Regions from separate parts of the Homo sapiens genome. Here all the other regions are linked to region 1. The links are contacts of gene promoters, found by promoter capture Hi-C in human tissues and cell types (Jung and others, 2019). All regions are on one chromosome and are shown on one strand. The core of a region is centred on a gene start or on the middle of the fragment in contact, and the rest is flanking DNA. Distances in the headings are between cores, read along the strand shown.

Region 1 (4,914 bases), core at 983-3,482:
CAACTGTTAACCAATGCACACGGGGGGAGGAGGTTACATGCACATTGACTATTTAAAACTGTCCAATTTCATACATTTCGACAAAGCATTTAAAACTCTGCCAGAACAGCCCAGAATGGGTAGCGGGTGGGGTGGAGGAGAGTCTGTATTTACTTTAAAATGTGAATTAATTAGTTTAGACACAAGGAGCAAAACTACAAATGTCTTGATATCTCTTATATGTTAAGAATAAAATTACAGCTGTCTAGGGGCATTGAGTGTCCACCATTGCCCACTCTGTGTTTAGGCCTTCACACTTGTCTCACAACTCCCTTCTGCTACATTTCACACCACGCAATACCTCTGCAAGGGAGCTTTAGCTACAGGACTCAGAGGACAAGGTGCATGTTTCAGCTAAAGCACACCCCCGTTCTCAGTGCCTCAGCCCAAAGCAGCTGCTGTGTAAGAGCGGTGACGGCCGGGGAACACCCAAATGACATATTCTCCGCGTCCTTCCTATACTGTAGTGATGTTTACTGAAGTGCTGAGAAAACATGGGAGGAGACACTGGGGTAGCAAAGCCTAAAGTCAGATATCTTTGGGGAGGACTAAGCATCGGCTGCGGGTTGGGGATTTGCAGGAGTCTTTGCTTCTCTGGCTCTCCAGTTCTTTAGTAGGCTTTACCTGTGTCAAAATCAAGTGCGAGATGGAAGACTATTGCTTTGTGGGAGACCCAGGGACAACTAGCCGGGCAGAACAGGGCTGTGGTCCCGACTCCCCCAGCAGACCTTGAACGACGCCAGTCCGACTCCTCCAGAGGGGGCTGGTGACAGGTCAGCTGCCTCGCCCCGAGGGTGGGGGAAGGGCGCGCTTTCCATCCGCGTACTGGGACAGGAGTTTGGGTGCAAACTAGTAAAGGCTATGGTGCTCCCTTTACACCCAAGTAAAGGCATGTGGTTTGGGGGACGGAAGGAGATTAAGCCAATGCGGAATGCCCTACACACACTCTAGCACCACCACTTTGGGGACTTCGGTTCTCCCGCTGGCTCGGGCTTGGACCTCGGTCTGCAGGGAGAGGGTTGGAGGGACTGGGCGGCTGCGGCCCTTACCTTGCTGACCACGTTCTGGACGAGGCCGGCGCGGATGCCGTAGTCCCATGCGCGGCAGTCACAGTTGGAGGCGTTGTCCCCCTTGTCCGGAGGGGATGGCAGGGGTGGTGTGTCGCCTCCGTCCGCGCCGCTGCTGTTGCTCCGGTTGCCCGCAGCCTCCCAGGGGGCAGTGGCGAAGGGGGTGGTGGGGAGGCTGGTCCAGTTGCCCATGTCCCCGCCCCGGCCTGTGGTGGTGACCCCTGCCAGCTCGGTGCCTTTGCCGGCCCCGCGGCACCAGAAGTTGGGCTGGTCCAGGAGGAACGAGTCCGAGAACTGGCTGAAGCCGATGAACAGCGCCGGGATCCAGGTGAGCAGCACGAGGGTCTTCTGATAGCCCCCGCCCAGGCCCCCGAGGAAGGGCAGCACCGACCCGTCATAGTCCAGCAACAAGAGGCTCGGGGCCGCAGCCGCGGAGCAGCAGCTCGGGTGCGGGCCGCCTCCAGGATGCAGTGGGGGCAGCGGCTGGATCTCCGCGCCGCCGCCGGGGCCCGCGCGTCCCCCGAGGGGCGCCGAGGCCGCCGCGTCCCCGGGCGGCAGGGAGCCGTTCTCCTCGGCCGGGGCCGGCTGCCGCCCAGGCCCGCCGCCCGCCGCCTCGCGCCGCCGGTCTATGGCCATGGCCCGGGCCCGCGGCTCCCGCAGAGGCGCATAGAGCGCGGCGGAGGCTCCGCGGGCGCCCCGGGCACAGCGCGCCGGGCCAGGCGCCTGCAGCCGCTGCCGCCGAGGAGGGCCCGCGGCTCGAGAGAGAGCGCTCGGCGGCTCCGGGTGCGTCAGGCCGCCCCCATGTCACCCGCCGGACCCCGCGCCCCGGGCGCTGCGGCCCCGCTCGGGCGCCGGGCAGAGGCGGGCAGAGGCCGGCCGGGCCCTCAGCCGCCGCGGCTCATCAGTTCCGCGGCCCGGGCGCCGGCTGCCGAGCCCGCCGCTCTCCGCTGCTCCGCGCCGGACGCGGCAGGAGGAGGAGCCGGCGCCGCGCCCGGCCCGCGCCCTTGCCGGCGGTTCAGGGCCCTGCGGGCGGCGGTGCGGGCAAAGGCTGCTGCTCCCGGGGTGGCCGCGCTGTATTTCTCCGACTTCGGGCGCCTCCCGGAAGCCGCGAGCTCTGGACCCAGCCTGCCGAGCCGGCCGCGCTCTCCAGCTCCTGGAGCCGGCCCCACTCCTCCTCCTCCTCCTCCTCCTCCCCCTCCTCCCTGCCCCCCGGCCCGCCCCCTCTCCCCCCGCCGAGGTGGAGGTAACCGCGGCACCTGCTGCGCTCGGCTCCTGCTCGCGAGCGCCCCCTCCAGCCCGGACGCGCGGCCGCCGCCGCCCGGGATCCACGGGAGGGGGGCGGGGGAAACGGGACACCCCGGGCCCGCCTGGCTGGAGGATCCCCTGCCCGTTGCCCGTTTCGCGCCGGGCGGGGCGGGGGAGGAGGAGACGCGCGTAGCAGGGGTCGCCGGCCGGCGACGGGTCCCGGCAAAGTCGGCGTGCGCTGAGAACGTGTGGGCCGGGTCTTCTCTGAGGCTGGGCTCCCGCAGCCGCGCGGGCCCCCCACCCACTCCGCGCGCGCCAGGTCTCCGTGACCTCTGTCTCTTCAGAGGTGCCCGGCGGTCCCGCTGCCCGCGCCCCGCTCCCAGTCCCAAGCCCGAGGGTCTTCAGCCTTCGGGAACAACCCTCTGCGCTTTTTCCAGGAGCGAATAAGGTTGATTTTTGTGTCCGTGGAGCAGGGTCAAGGAGGCGCCTTTGCCAATTTCAGGTCGCCAGTCCCCCGCAGTGTCTGGCCACCTGCGACCCGCCGCACCCACTCCCAAATCGCCATTTCTTCCCCCACTCCTAAGTGCATGCGATGTAAGCACGATGCTGGGATATATCTCCAACACAAGTTATAATACACACAGTATAAACGTGATGGCATTCCCCACCCCCTCCCTAAGATCTTGTATTCACGTTTGGAACGCCGTGTGCACAGGCGCACACATCTATACTCTCACACAAGAAGACAAACCTCTCCCTCCTCTCCTGCTCCAGCGCCAACCTTGCCCAGCCAGCGCTGTATAAATAACACCAGCCCTGCGGCAAACGGCTACATTAGCATATTTCCTCCTGCACCCAGCGCACGCACCAAAGAGAATTATCCGGCACCTTTCAACCCAGCGTCCCCACATTTTGGAGGCATTTCATATTCTGAGAAGTTTATTAATGGAAGTCTTAAATGGAGCAATCCATTTCTAGTCTTATTTGGGGCAAAAAAAAAAAAAATGTTTAGCTTTCCAAAAGGATATATTCTAAGCTCCATATACTGAATGTATTCTTTTGCATTTTCATTATTTGCTCAGCTAACCGCTGCACAATTTAGTGGAATACATTTTTAACCTGCAGTTCAGTGTTAAGGGCAACATGTGTTTACTGCATAAAATGCTGGCACATACGTACCAGAGAACTATTTCTGAAGGCTGCCGGGGGGCGGGTCTTGGGGGACAGGGGAGGTTGTGGACCTTCCTGCGTGGCCGAGAAGGGGTGATTAGATAACAATGGGCGGAAGGGGCCCTAAGGGCTGCAAAAGACACCAGACCGCTGAGAAATGGGTCTGGAAACCACATATATAAAGAGCTGGGGGCTTGGGGCGGGGGGGGACACGATAGTGCACGTTGTGTACGTGGTAATTTTTCAACTTCACATTATTTATTAGCTTAACTTTTCTTTTCCTTCCCTCTCCTCCCCTCATTTGAAGAGCTAATACATGCAAAGTTCTGACCTCCATGCCTGGAACAGAGTAAGTGCGCAATGAATGTTAGACATGTATTATTACCAGTGCTCCTCTTGCCATTACATACAATCCACATTTCTTTTTGAATTGAAATATAACTTTACGGATTTTATTTATTTTCCTTTCAGTGGCTGATTTTCCAGAAGAGGTCCACTTTGTGTCTGGCTCTGCCTCCCTTCCCCCACAGTCACAAGGACCCATTTGTTTTCTTGTAACTGATCACAAAAGGAGCATTGCCATTGACCTTAATGGCCCTTCCAATCAGAATAACTATCATAGCCAGCGTTTCAGAGTTGGCTTTCAAATTCACACTCTCACTCAGTCCTCACATTCAGCGCCCCAAGAAGTGGGCTTTCAAAGAGAAACAGCAAGGATCAGGTGACTGACTACCAGATCAAAGAGTTGGTCCCCAGCTGAGCCAAATATCTGGTTTTGAACCCAGATTTTCTGACTGGACATTACCGGATTTCTCCATTTCATCATACAGGGGCAACTATAGGGAAGAGTTTACAAAGATGTTTGTTAATGTGCATTTTTACGTGGGAGAAGCCCTGGCCCTAGGAAAAGAGTTTCATTGTGAAGATGTTATTAGTCTTTGTTCGCAAAAGGTGGTAAAAATCCTCAAATGGTACATTCTTAGAATTTAGGGACACACTGGAAAATGGTATCCTCTAAAACTGAAGCTAAAAGGAGGCAACATAAAATGTTTGAAATTAACTAGCTGCAGCACTGACCCAGGCATTGTAATTAAGCTGTTGATTAGATTAGAGGTTTCCCTAAATTCCTCCTGGATTGATATTTCCACCAAATCTAGTCAAGAAGATTAAAGTGTAACTACTTTAAAATAAAGTGGCCTTCAATTTATTAAAACATACCACAAGTGATCTCATAACGTGAGCAAAAGGAGTAAAGAGGAAGAATTTGACACTCTGACAGCCTCAGTGGGTGAGGTTTGAGATCCATGGACCAGGATAGGAAAGCCAGACACCTGTTAAAAAATTACTGTTTTTAATTTTCTGAATGAGCATTATCATCAGCTGCTATTTTTCT
Region 2 (4,914 bases), core at 1,138-3,637, 340 kb before region 1:
TGAAATTGAGCAGCTCAAAATTACTTTTCAGCTGTGTTACCTAGGGCTTGCTTCCTAACCTTTCTTAGCCTCAGTTGCCTCATCTATAAATGGAGAGTGCAATAGCACAGAAGGCTAATGTGAAGATTAAAGAAATATGATATATCATAAGGTGCCTGGCACAAAAATGGCAGTTTTTTTAAACTGTACGATCTTGCTATATATAAAGAACTGGTTGTCAGGTATGTTACTTAAAAATAGTGACACCACGCTGGACGCGGTGGCACACACCTGTAATCCTAGCACTTTAGGAGGCTGAGGCGGGTGGATCACCTGAGGTCAGGAGTTTGAGACCAGCCTGGCCAACATGGCAAAACCTCGTCTCTACTAAAATTACAAAAATTAGCCGGGCATGGTGGCGGGTGCTTGTAATCTCAGCTACTCAGGAGGCTGAGGCAGGAGAATTGCTTGAACCTGCGAGGCAGAGGTTACAGTGAGCTGAGATTGCGCCATTGCACTCCAGCCTGGGCAACAAGACCAAAACTCCGTCTCAAAAAAAAAAAATTGTGACACCAATAACCTAAAACTCAGTGCTACCGTTTTTTATTAGCACAAGGGTAACTGGTGTTGAAACTGTACAGACAGCTATTTTTATCATTTCTGAGATGAAACCCCAATCAACATATCAGGAAAAAAGGAAATACTGACCTCACCAAAGATTTCTGAAAGTCAAACGATATTAAACTCAAACATTATATATGTCTCTTTCCTTTTATGCAGGAATTAATGTGATAGATTTATGTTGAGAGTAGAATATGAAAACTTTTGCATAGTCTGTATTTAGGCCAAAACTGCCTTTACTACTCAAGAAAGTCCAATGGGCCAGTGAGGACACTGCAGGTGACAGAAATTTCTATGAGTGTAACACCTACAAGCACTGTGCTCACAGGACTGACTGTTACACCAAAAAGGTCTCTTGGAGGAGAAGAAATGCAATATGCAAAGAAGCTGTTGTCTCCAATTATTCAAGCCAAGGCTACAACAGTAGCCACAAATCTGCCAGTTATTTCCAATTAAGGCAGAACGATTGACTTAAAAAGCAATAGTTGTTTTTTTTCTCCACTGAGCTTTCAATTAGATAATGTCTATAACCTTTATAAAGCTGCAATTATACAGCCAAAAGAAAAAAAATTAATTGTGGTAAAACATACATAAAACTTACCACTTAAACCACTTTTAGGTGTGTAGTTCAGTGGCAGTAAGTACACTCACAATGTAATGCAGGCATCACCAAAATCCATCCCCAGGACTTTTTCATCTCTCCAAACTGAAACTCTGTCCCCATGAAACACCAACTTTCCATTCCCCCTTCCACCAGCCCTCAACAACCCCCATTCTATTTTCTGTCCCTATAAGTTTGACTCCTCTAGGTACCTTATTATATAAGTGGAATCACACAGTATTTGTCTTTTTTTGACTGGCTTACCTCCCTCAGCATAGTGTCCTCCAGGTTCATCCATGTAGTAGCAAGTGTCAGAATTTCGTTCTTTGTTCAGGCTAAAAAATGTTCCCTTGCATGCACAGACAACATTTTGCTTATCCATGTATCTGTTTTTGGACACTTAAATTGCCTCCACCCTTTTGGCTATTGTGAATAGTGCCGCTGTCAACGTGAGTGTAAAAACATTTCTTCTTGTACACCCTGTTTTAAATTCTTTTGGGTTATATACCCAGAAAAGAAAATGCTGGATCATATAACTGATTTGTTGAGGAACCGCAGTATTGTTCATCACATGGCTGCACCATTTTACATTCCCAACAGCAATATACAAGGGCTTCAATTTCTCTACATCTTCACCAACACTAATTTCTGGGGGTTTTGCTAGTAGCCATCCTAATGGGCGTGAAGTGGTATAAACAAAATTTAGATCCCATCATCTCCGAAAAGCAAATACACTTCCTAGTACTAGTCAGTACTAAATAGGTGCACAGCGTTTAGAACTTTACTTGATCCAACATAGCAGCCTGCCTAGAGCCGGAGCCCCGCCCACTCCGGAGTCCCGCCTGGACGCCGACGCAGCGAGGGCGCTATGGCTGGCGGCCTCGCCTCCTGGAAAGGCCATGGTCGCTGAGGCGACGAGCGAGGGCGGGGCAGCGCCGACGGGGACACTCATCCCGGGAGCCAGAGCCAGCACCGAGAGGGGACGGTCTACGCGGGTGCCGGCGGTTCCAGGACTGCGAAACCACGAGCCGAGTTTCGGTCGCCCATGGGAAAGCACCCGGCAGGGCGTGGCTTCGGGGCGGGGCGGGCAGAGGGCGGAGCAGGATGGAGAGGCGAGGTGGGCGGAGCAGAGGGCGTGGCTTCGGGGCAGAGTGGGCCGGGTACCGCGCTTGGTCTTAGCGCATGCGCACTCCCGGCAGCTACGCGACCTGTGACCATGGTGGCTGTGCTGGGCGGCCGGGGCGTGTTGCGCCTGCGGCTGCTTCTCTCAGCGCTGAAGCCCGGGATCCACGTCCCACGGGCCGGACCCGCGGCCGCGTTCGGGTAATGGCGGCCACCTCGCCCCGGGGATCCCCAGCATCGGCGCGCTCGAGGGGCGGCGGGAGGGGCGCGTGCCGACAGCAGGAGTTCCCGGCGCGCGGGCACGGGGCGTGGGCGCGGCCTGGCTGCCCTGTCGCCCTTTGTGCCGCGAGACCCCGATCCTGGGGGCCAGCCGCGCTTGGTGCTCGAGCCCCTCGATCGTGCATGCGCCTCGGTCAGCCTCAGTTCAAGGAGTCTGGAGCCGTGGAGGCTTGGGCTATAGAGTGCAGCCCCTTCAGTGTGCAGACCAGAGAGACCCAGGGAGATACATTTGCCTGTAGTATGGACTCACCCGTGACGGAGCACGGACTAGAATCCCAACGCCCTCATTAGTCCATTGCTCTGTCCAGAGTCCACACTAAGGGCATAAGGACAATAATCTCTTCTTTCTCTTATGTCAGAAATCAGCCTGAGCCTGAGTACCGCTAAGGCTTTAATCACGGGTCCCGAGAGCCCTAAGTCTTCTCTTTGCTTGCTGATCTCGTACCTTAATGTGCAAAAGAATCACGTTGGGAACTGAAAATTCAGAATCCTGGGCCTCACTCCCAGAGGATCTGATCTACATGTGTGGAGATGCCCAGGAATCTGCTTTATTCTCTTTTGTCCTCCCACCTGTCCCCCCATTTCAGGTAAAACAATAACAAAAAAACTGGATTAATTTCTGACCTTCTGTCTTGAAAATGGATACTCTTGGTCCCAAGAGATACTGGGCAGAAATGTGGATAGAGCGGCATGAAGCTTGTTTTACTTTATTCTCTACATACATCCCTACACACATGCAAACACACGTATACAACGAACGTACACAGTGCATGTGCGCAGTTGACTGTTGATGGGCTACTTTCATAAAGTCAGTACTAGATAGGTACACAGCGTTTAGAACTGTACTTGATCCAACATAGAAACTTTTAGTTTGAAAACTTGATTTAGAAGGAGAAAAGAGGGCAAATCTGACCAGCTTTTAAAATTTCATATTGCAATTGACTAGCTCCTTTAATTTTAGAATTATTATAAGATGGTCAGGGCTATTTTGATAGATGGAAAAACATGTTAATGGCTACAGCTGTATAAATTAACAGTGAAAATGATTATTTTTTCCAGTTTCCTGTCTGCAGAAAGGCATCGAAATAAGTTACTGTGATTGTACCAATATAGTTCTTTTTTTTTTTGAGACTGACTCTCGCTCTTTTGCCCATGCTGGAGTGCAGTGTTGTGATCTCGCTCACTGCAACCTCTGCCTCCCAGGTTTAAGCGATTCTCGTGGCCTCAGCCTCCCGAGTAGCTGGGATTACAGGTACCTGCCACCATGCCCGGCTAATTTTTGTGTTTTTAGTAGAGATGGGGTTTCACCATGTTGGCCAAGCTGATCTCGAACTCTTGACCTCAAATGATCCACCTGCCTCAGCCTCCCAAAGTGCTGGGATTACAGGCGTGAGCCACCGCTCTCGGCCTACCAGTATAGTTCTGATAGGTTATTTAATGGTTGAGGAAGGCCCCATCCATCTAGTTGCATTGCAGATCATTCTTCCTAAAATATCTCTGAAGAAACAGGTTTTTCTGGATTTTGTACGGCCGTTTTATAAATGCAGCTGCAAGTTGATATGACATATAATCTGGGAAAACAAGCAGTGGTATTAGTTAATCCTGAAATGCAGCTGTAGCTCAGTGTCAGTAGGTAAAAGGATTCGTGTAAAAACTTTGCTTCAGAATAGCCAGTGCCCAACCTACAACTGACTTTTGTTCCAAAAACTTGTTTGTAAGTCTGCTGTTTGGAACTTTGACCCTTATTTCAAAATCCGTAAGGTGATTTATTCCTGGGTCAGGTCAAGAAAAGCCTTTTCTACCTGAAATTGGATATTATGTGCAGTTATAAATATTAATAATTCACATAACCTAACAATCTTCCTAAAAAATATTTTCCAAGTTCAACCTTGGGATGCCCTGCCAGAGAATCAGAGACTGTCCTTCTGCTGACGCTTGCCACCACGCTGTATCTGGCAGTCAGAGTGTGGCCCCGGTGCCTGAGCCCTCTTAGGACTCTGTTCAGCCATGAGGTTAGAGAGGAATCATGGCCTCTGGAGTTCTAATGGCCCCGTGGCCACTTCCTAGCTCTGTGAGTGTGGGCAGATTGTTCAACCTCTCTGAGCCTCCTGCCTTGCAGCGTTTTTGTGAGGATTTGAAACAATAAATGTAAAAGCCTGGGGATATAATAAACATGAAGTAATTAGTAGGCACAATGGGAATATTTATATAATAGTACAATATATAAGAGATGTAAAAATAATTCATCAAGATTCATGCAAATTTCAAGCCCTGAAGGTAGCAAATACTTTATTGTAGATAATGGCTACTTC
Region 3 (4,914 bases), core at 1,711-4,210, 260 kb after region 1:
GCACACCAATCCATCCATGAGCCCACATCCAACCACCCTTACTGGCTTTCATACTCTGGGCCACCATCCATCTACCCTAATCACCCCAGGACCAGGTACAAGACAACTAGGGACAGCCCCTAGTCCGCGGAGCCTGCTGAAATTATCAAACTGACCAATCTTTGAAACTGCTTAGTCTGGCTCCCTATCTCCTCCGCACAGAAACCACAATAAAGACACTTGCTATGCCTTCCCCTGCTCCTTCTGCCTCCTGACCTACCCTGGTACTTCTCACATGGCTCCCCAGGGCATATGTGCCCCCTCGACTTGGGATCTGCCTGTATAGCAAACTATCTTTTCAATGGCAGCCACCTCCTCATCTGTTGGCCTTGACATGCTGAAAAATAATACAGTCTGCATTTTAAGTCCTTGGGCCTAGAGGAGAATATTGGTCTGCAGAAGGCACAGAGAACACAGGACAGAAATTTTAGTTGCAATAAAAAGGCTTGTAATTTGACAGAATGCTTCTAAAATGAAACCCAAGAATATGTTCTATCCCCAACAGGAGAAACTAGTGAAGGTTAGGACACATTGCTCAGGGCAGTTTGGCTGCCAACACCCCCAGGTATACTTCTATTAATAAATGTCACAGCCACGAGAACTGTATGCTTATGAAGGAGCCCACAGTCAGCTCCATTACCAGGTAGCTTATGCTCGTGTGCCTCCCCACAAGGGAAGTGCTGGGGAGTGTCAATTCTGCAGGAATCACCACAGGCGGGACTAGGCAATGTTTACACTGTGCATTTTTCACTTTAGGAAGGCCTCATACATGAAAATGAGCATTTGTAACAAAACAAAGAAGGAATGATTCCTCAGCCCATAAATAGTGCATGCTGAAAGCGCTTTTTAAATAGGAAAACTTAGGTGACTTACATGATTTGACGACAGGAATTTGTTTGAATTGCTCACCACTTCACAGGAGCCTAAGGTGATCAAGTGAAGTTAACGACAGCAGCCTTCACACAATTGTCAGTGACTAAGGGTAGTGTCCAAGCCCCTGCAGCCAAGGGTGTTAGTTGCCAGAGCAGCACGAAGAGCCTAAGTGAGTTAGGAAAGAAGCTGGTCCCTGTGTGTTGGGAATTGCTGGGTTCTTGGTCTGACTTCAAGAATGAAGCTGCAGACCCTTGCAGTGAGTATTACAGCTCTTAAGGTGGGGCATCTGGAGTCTGTCCCTTCTGATGTTCAGATCGGTTCGTGGTCTCGCTGGCTCAGGAGTGAAGCTGCAGACCTTCACAGTGAGTGTTACAGCTCTTAAGATGAAGCGTCTGGAGTCTGCCCCTTCTGATGTTCAAACGTGGTTGGAGTTTCTTCGTTCCAGTGGCTTCGTAGTCTCACTAGCTCAGGAGTGAAACTGCACACCTTCGCGGTGAGTGTTATAGCTCTTAAGACAGCGCGTCTGGAGTTGTTTGTTCCTCTCAGTGAGCTTGTGGTCTCGCTAGGCTCTGAAGTGAAGCTGCAGATCTTCACGGTGAGTGGTACAGCTCATAAAAGCAATGTGGACCCAAAAAGCGAGCAGCAACAAGATTTATTGCAAAAAACGAAAAGAACAAAGCTTCCACGGTGTGGAAAACAATCCCCGCGAGTTGTCAATGCTGGCTCGGGCAGCCTGCTTTTATTCTCTTATCTGGCCCCACCCACATCCTGCTGATTGGTAGAGCCAAGTGGTCTGTTTTGTCAGGGCGCTGATTGGTGCGTTTACAATCCCTGAGCTAGATACAAAGGTTCTCCATGTCCCCATCAGATTAGTTAGACACAGAGTTTCACCACACAAGTTCTCCAAGGCCCCACCAGAGCAGCTAGATATAGAGTGTTAATTGGTGCATTCACAAACCTTGAGCTAAACACAGGGTGCTGATTGGTGTGTTTACAAACCTTGAGCTAGATACAGAGTGCTGATTGGTGTATTTACAATCCCTGAGCTAGACATAAAGGTTCTTCATGTCCCCACCAGAGCAGCTAGATACAGAGTGTTGATTGGTGCACTCACAAACCTTGAGCTAAACACAGGGTGCTGATTGGTGTATTTACAATCCCTGAGCTAGACATAAAGGTTCTCCAAGGCCCCACCAGAGCAGCTAGATACAGAGTGTCGATTGGTGCACTCACAAACCTTGAGCTAGACACAGGGTGCTGATTGGTGTGTTTACAATCCCTGAGCTAGATATAAAGACTCTCCACATCCCCACCAGACTCAGGAGCCCAGCTGGCTTCACCTAGTGGATCCCACACTGGGGCTGCAGGTGGAGCTGCTTGCCAGTCCTGCGCGTGTGCTCACATTCCTCAGCCCTTGGGTGGTCGATGGGACTGGGCGCCGTGGAGCAGGGGGTGGTGCTCGTCGGGGAGGCTCGGGCGGCACAGGAGCCCATGGAGTGGGTGGGAGGCTCAGGCATGGCGGGCTGCAGGTCCCGAGCCCTGCCCTGCGGGAAGGCTGCTAAGGCTCGGTGAGAAATCGAGCACAGCACCGATGGGCTGGTACTAGTGGGGGACCCAGTACACCCTCCGCAGCCACTAGCCCGGGTGCTAAGTCCCTCATTGCCCGGGGCCAGCAGGGCTGGCCGGCTGCTCCCAGTGCGGGGCCCGCCAAGCCCAGGCCCACCCGGAACTCCAGCTGGCCAGCAAGCGCCACACGCAGCCCTGGTTCCCGCTCGTGCCTCTCCCTCCACACCTCCCTGCAAGCTGAGGGAGTGGGCTCCAGCCTTGGCCAGCCCAGAAAGGGGCTCCCACAGTGCAGCGGCGGGCCGAAGGGCTCCTCAAGTGCCGCCAAAGTGGGAGCCCAGGCAGAGGAGGCGCCGAGAGCGAGCGAGGGCTGTGAGGACTGCCAGCACGCTGTCACCTCTCACCTGGAGGAATGTGCGGGCAAGAGTGAAAATTCACACATGAACCTCAACTGCTCTGGTATCGATTTTCTGAAATGACAGTTTAGAGGCTGACAATTCACAATTCTTTCACTTGGTCAAGTTTCTAATATATTTTTGTTTATTTTTATTTATTTATTGTCAACACCTCAAAATTGGGATATTTCACAAAGAAGAGTCAGATTTCTAGCTTTTATTGAAAAACTAGGAGATCTGGCCATACTGGGCCCATACTTGCAGGCAAAACAACCAGCTAAACTGAGCAGTGGTAGCTGCTCCCTTGATGCAGCGTCTGAGTGCTCCTGTTTGCCATAGCTGCCACCACTCCATACTGCTTCCAACAGTGATGCTGAGTGCCAGTAAGCATATATCTTTGCACCTAAAGAAACATTTATTTGTACTTATGGCTCTTTCAAGTGTGGGAATATAAAAAATGAACTTATGAGACCTATGTTTTTCCAGAAAAAAAAAAAAGGAAGCCAGAGAATGCTCTGATGTGCTTAATAGGACAACAGATGTCCAAACATCTCACCCCTACTGGCAAGACCTCATTGCGCACGGACTAGTAACAGTAAAACTTCTTCAGTGAAGGCTGAGCAGGGGATGAGGTTGGGGAGCCAAATTTGAGTCTTGACAGAGGAACACAGCCTGAGCAAGGAGGTGGCCAAGGAAGCTGCATCACAGTGACCGAATGGCTGGGGAGAAGCACCTCTGTGAAACGGATGAGACGAATCCGTGAATCAATCCTTGAAAGTCAGATGGGCATTAATTGAACATGCTGATCACTTCTAATCTTAGCTACTAAGCAGGAAGCCTCATCCTTGCACAGAACTGAATTTGATGTGTCAAGAAAAGAAAGGCAACCGGTCAACCCCGGAGTGAGCCACCTACTAGCCTATTTGAAATTGAGATGCTTTAAACAACACAGCTGGAAGGCAGAGGGAAATGCAAAACCAAAGGAAAGTCCATGTGCTTTGCAGCTGGGTCATCAAAGAGAATTCCTGTGGCTGCCAAAAAGAAAAATGGAGGAAAAGAAAAAAGCCTAAGTCAACCCCCGTCTCCCTCCAAAATAAAACAAGCAGTGTGTCCATTTTTCAATCTGGGCAGACCACTTCCCTAGGGTAAGAACATAACACACTTTGTCACTCACGGAATGTGACAGGAAGAGGGGGAGGGACCAGGCCCCAGGAGTCAGTTTTAGTTTCCACCCTGTCCCAAGGCAGGGGACAGAAAGAACCACGCCTTTATACACAAACATCCTGGACAGATCAAAGTAGAGTCATAGATTTTATTTAATTAAAATAGATTAAAAACAGACTGTGTAAAAGAATTAGAATTCTCAATAATTTACTATTATTTACATTAGCAAATGTCGGTCGTTAGTAGACACTGAGCAGAGAAGCTTGAAGAACGGGGATCCTCTCCTGTGGGCAGGGGAGCCCCAGCTTCCCTCGTGATTCCCGTCCTTTCAAGTTCATTATGGCAGCTCTGTCAATGAGCACCCCAGGGTGGTGTGGCCGCAGCACCAGGACCCGCGCTGAAGGCCCAGAGACCTGGCAGGCCGGGAAGAAATTCCTTTCCTTTGGGAAGAACCACCAACGCTCAGTCCAAGCTCACACGGTTATCTAGTCGGCAATGCCTTCCCTGCCCTGCAGCCAATACCCCCCACTGTGCTGGGCCTTCTGCAAATACTCCTGGGGTTGACCCAAACCCAGTTTCCAGATAAAAGATAAAAAGAAAAAAAAAAAGGCCACATATCCCAGTTCTCAGAGAAATCCTGGATTACTAAACATCCCCTGCCTGTGGCACCTGGAATGGGTGACTTGTCAAAATCTCCCTCAAGACGTTTTGTGCGTTTGCCGTGGGAGGGAATGGTGGGGAGTCAGGGTGGCTGGGGGGCACTAGGCCACTTCACCAAGAGGGATGCACCTCCCAGGAAGCAGTAGCAGTGAGAGCGAGCCCCACAGGAACTGTCCCTGCCCTGGCAGTGCGCAGCCCTGTGGGCACCAAGCAGGGAGTG

What was found. The method cuts DNA at HindIII sites, captures the fragments that hold promoters and counts their contacts. A contact is called where the count stands out against the background at its distance.
Region 2: the fragment with the promoter of BPHL here is called in contact with the fragment with the promoter of SLC22A23 in region 1 in 1 of the 25 tissues and cell types used here (thymus).
Region 3: a contact is called between a fragment that was not itself captured here and the fragment with the promoter of SLC22A23 in region 1, in 1 of the 25 tissues and cell types used here (small bowel).

The regions. Positions count from the first base shown.
Region 1 is chr6:3,454,818-3,459,731 of GRCh38, forward strand. It overlaps SLC22A23 (solute carrier family 22 member 23), which reads right to left and starts at 2,233. Exons shown (of 10, transcript NM_015482.2): 1 at 1,089-2,233. The coding sequence starts at 1,742. LOC643327 (a long non-coding RNA gene) reads left to right here and starts at 886. Exons shown (of 2, transcript NR_147844.1): 1 at 886-1,434. RefSeq lists silencers at 2,001-2,230, 2,291-2,510. The HindIII fragment of the contact is 13,877 bases long and covers 1-4,914 here.
Region 2 is chr6:3,116,324-3,121,237 of GRCh38, forward strand. BPHL (biphenyl hydrolase like) reads left to right here and starts at 2,388. Exons shown (of 7, transcript NM_004332.4): 1 at 2,388-2,524. The coding sequence starts at 2,418. LOC107986556 (a long non-coding RNA gene) reads right to left here and starts at 2,324. Exons shown (of 4, transcript XR_001743928.3): 1 at 1,466-2,324. RefSeq lists an enhancer at 1,622-2,257 and a silencer at 2,296-2,685. The HindIII fragment of the contact is 13,933 bases long and covers 1-4,914 here.
Region 3 is chr6:3,718,451-3,723,364 of GRCh38, forward strand. PXDC1 (PX domain containing 1) reads right to left here. Exons shown (of 5, transcript NM_183373.4): 5 at 4,169-4,914. It overlaps LOC100507336 (a long non-coding RNA gene), which reads right to left and starts at 1,627. Exons shown (of 4, transcript NR_187650.1): 1 at 913-1,627. The HindIII fragment of the contact is 4,661 bases long and covers 631-4,914 here.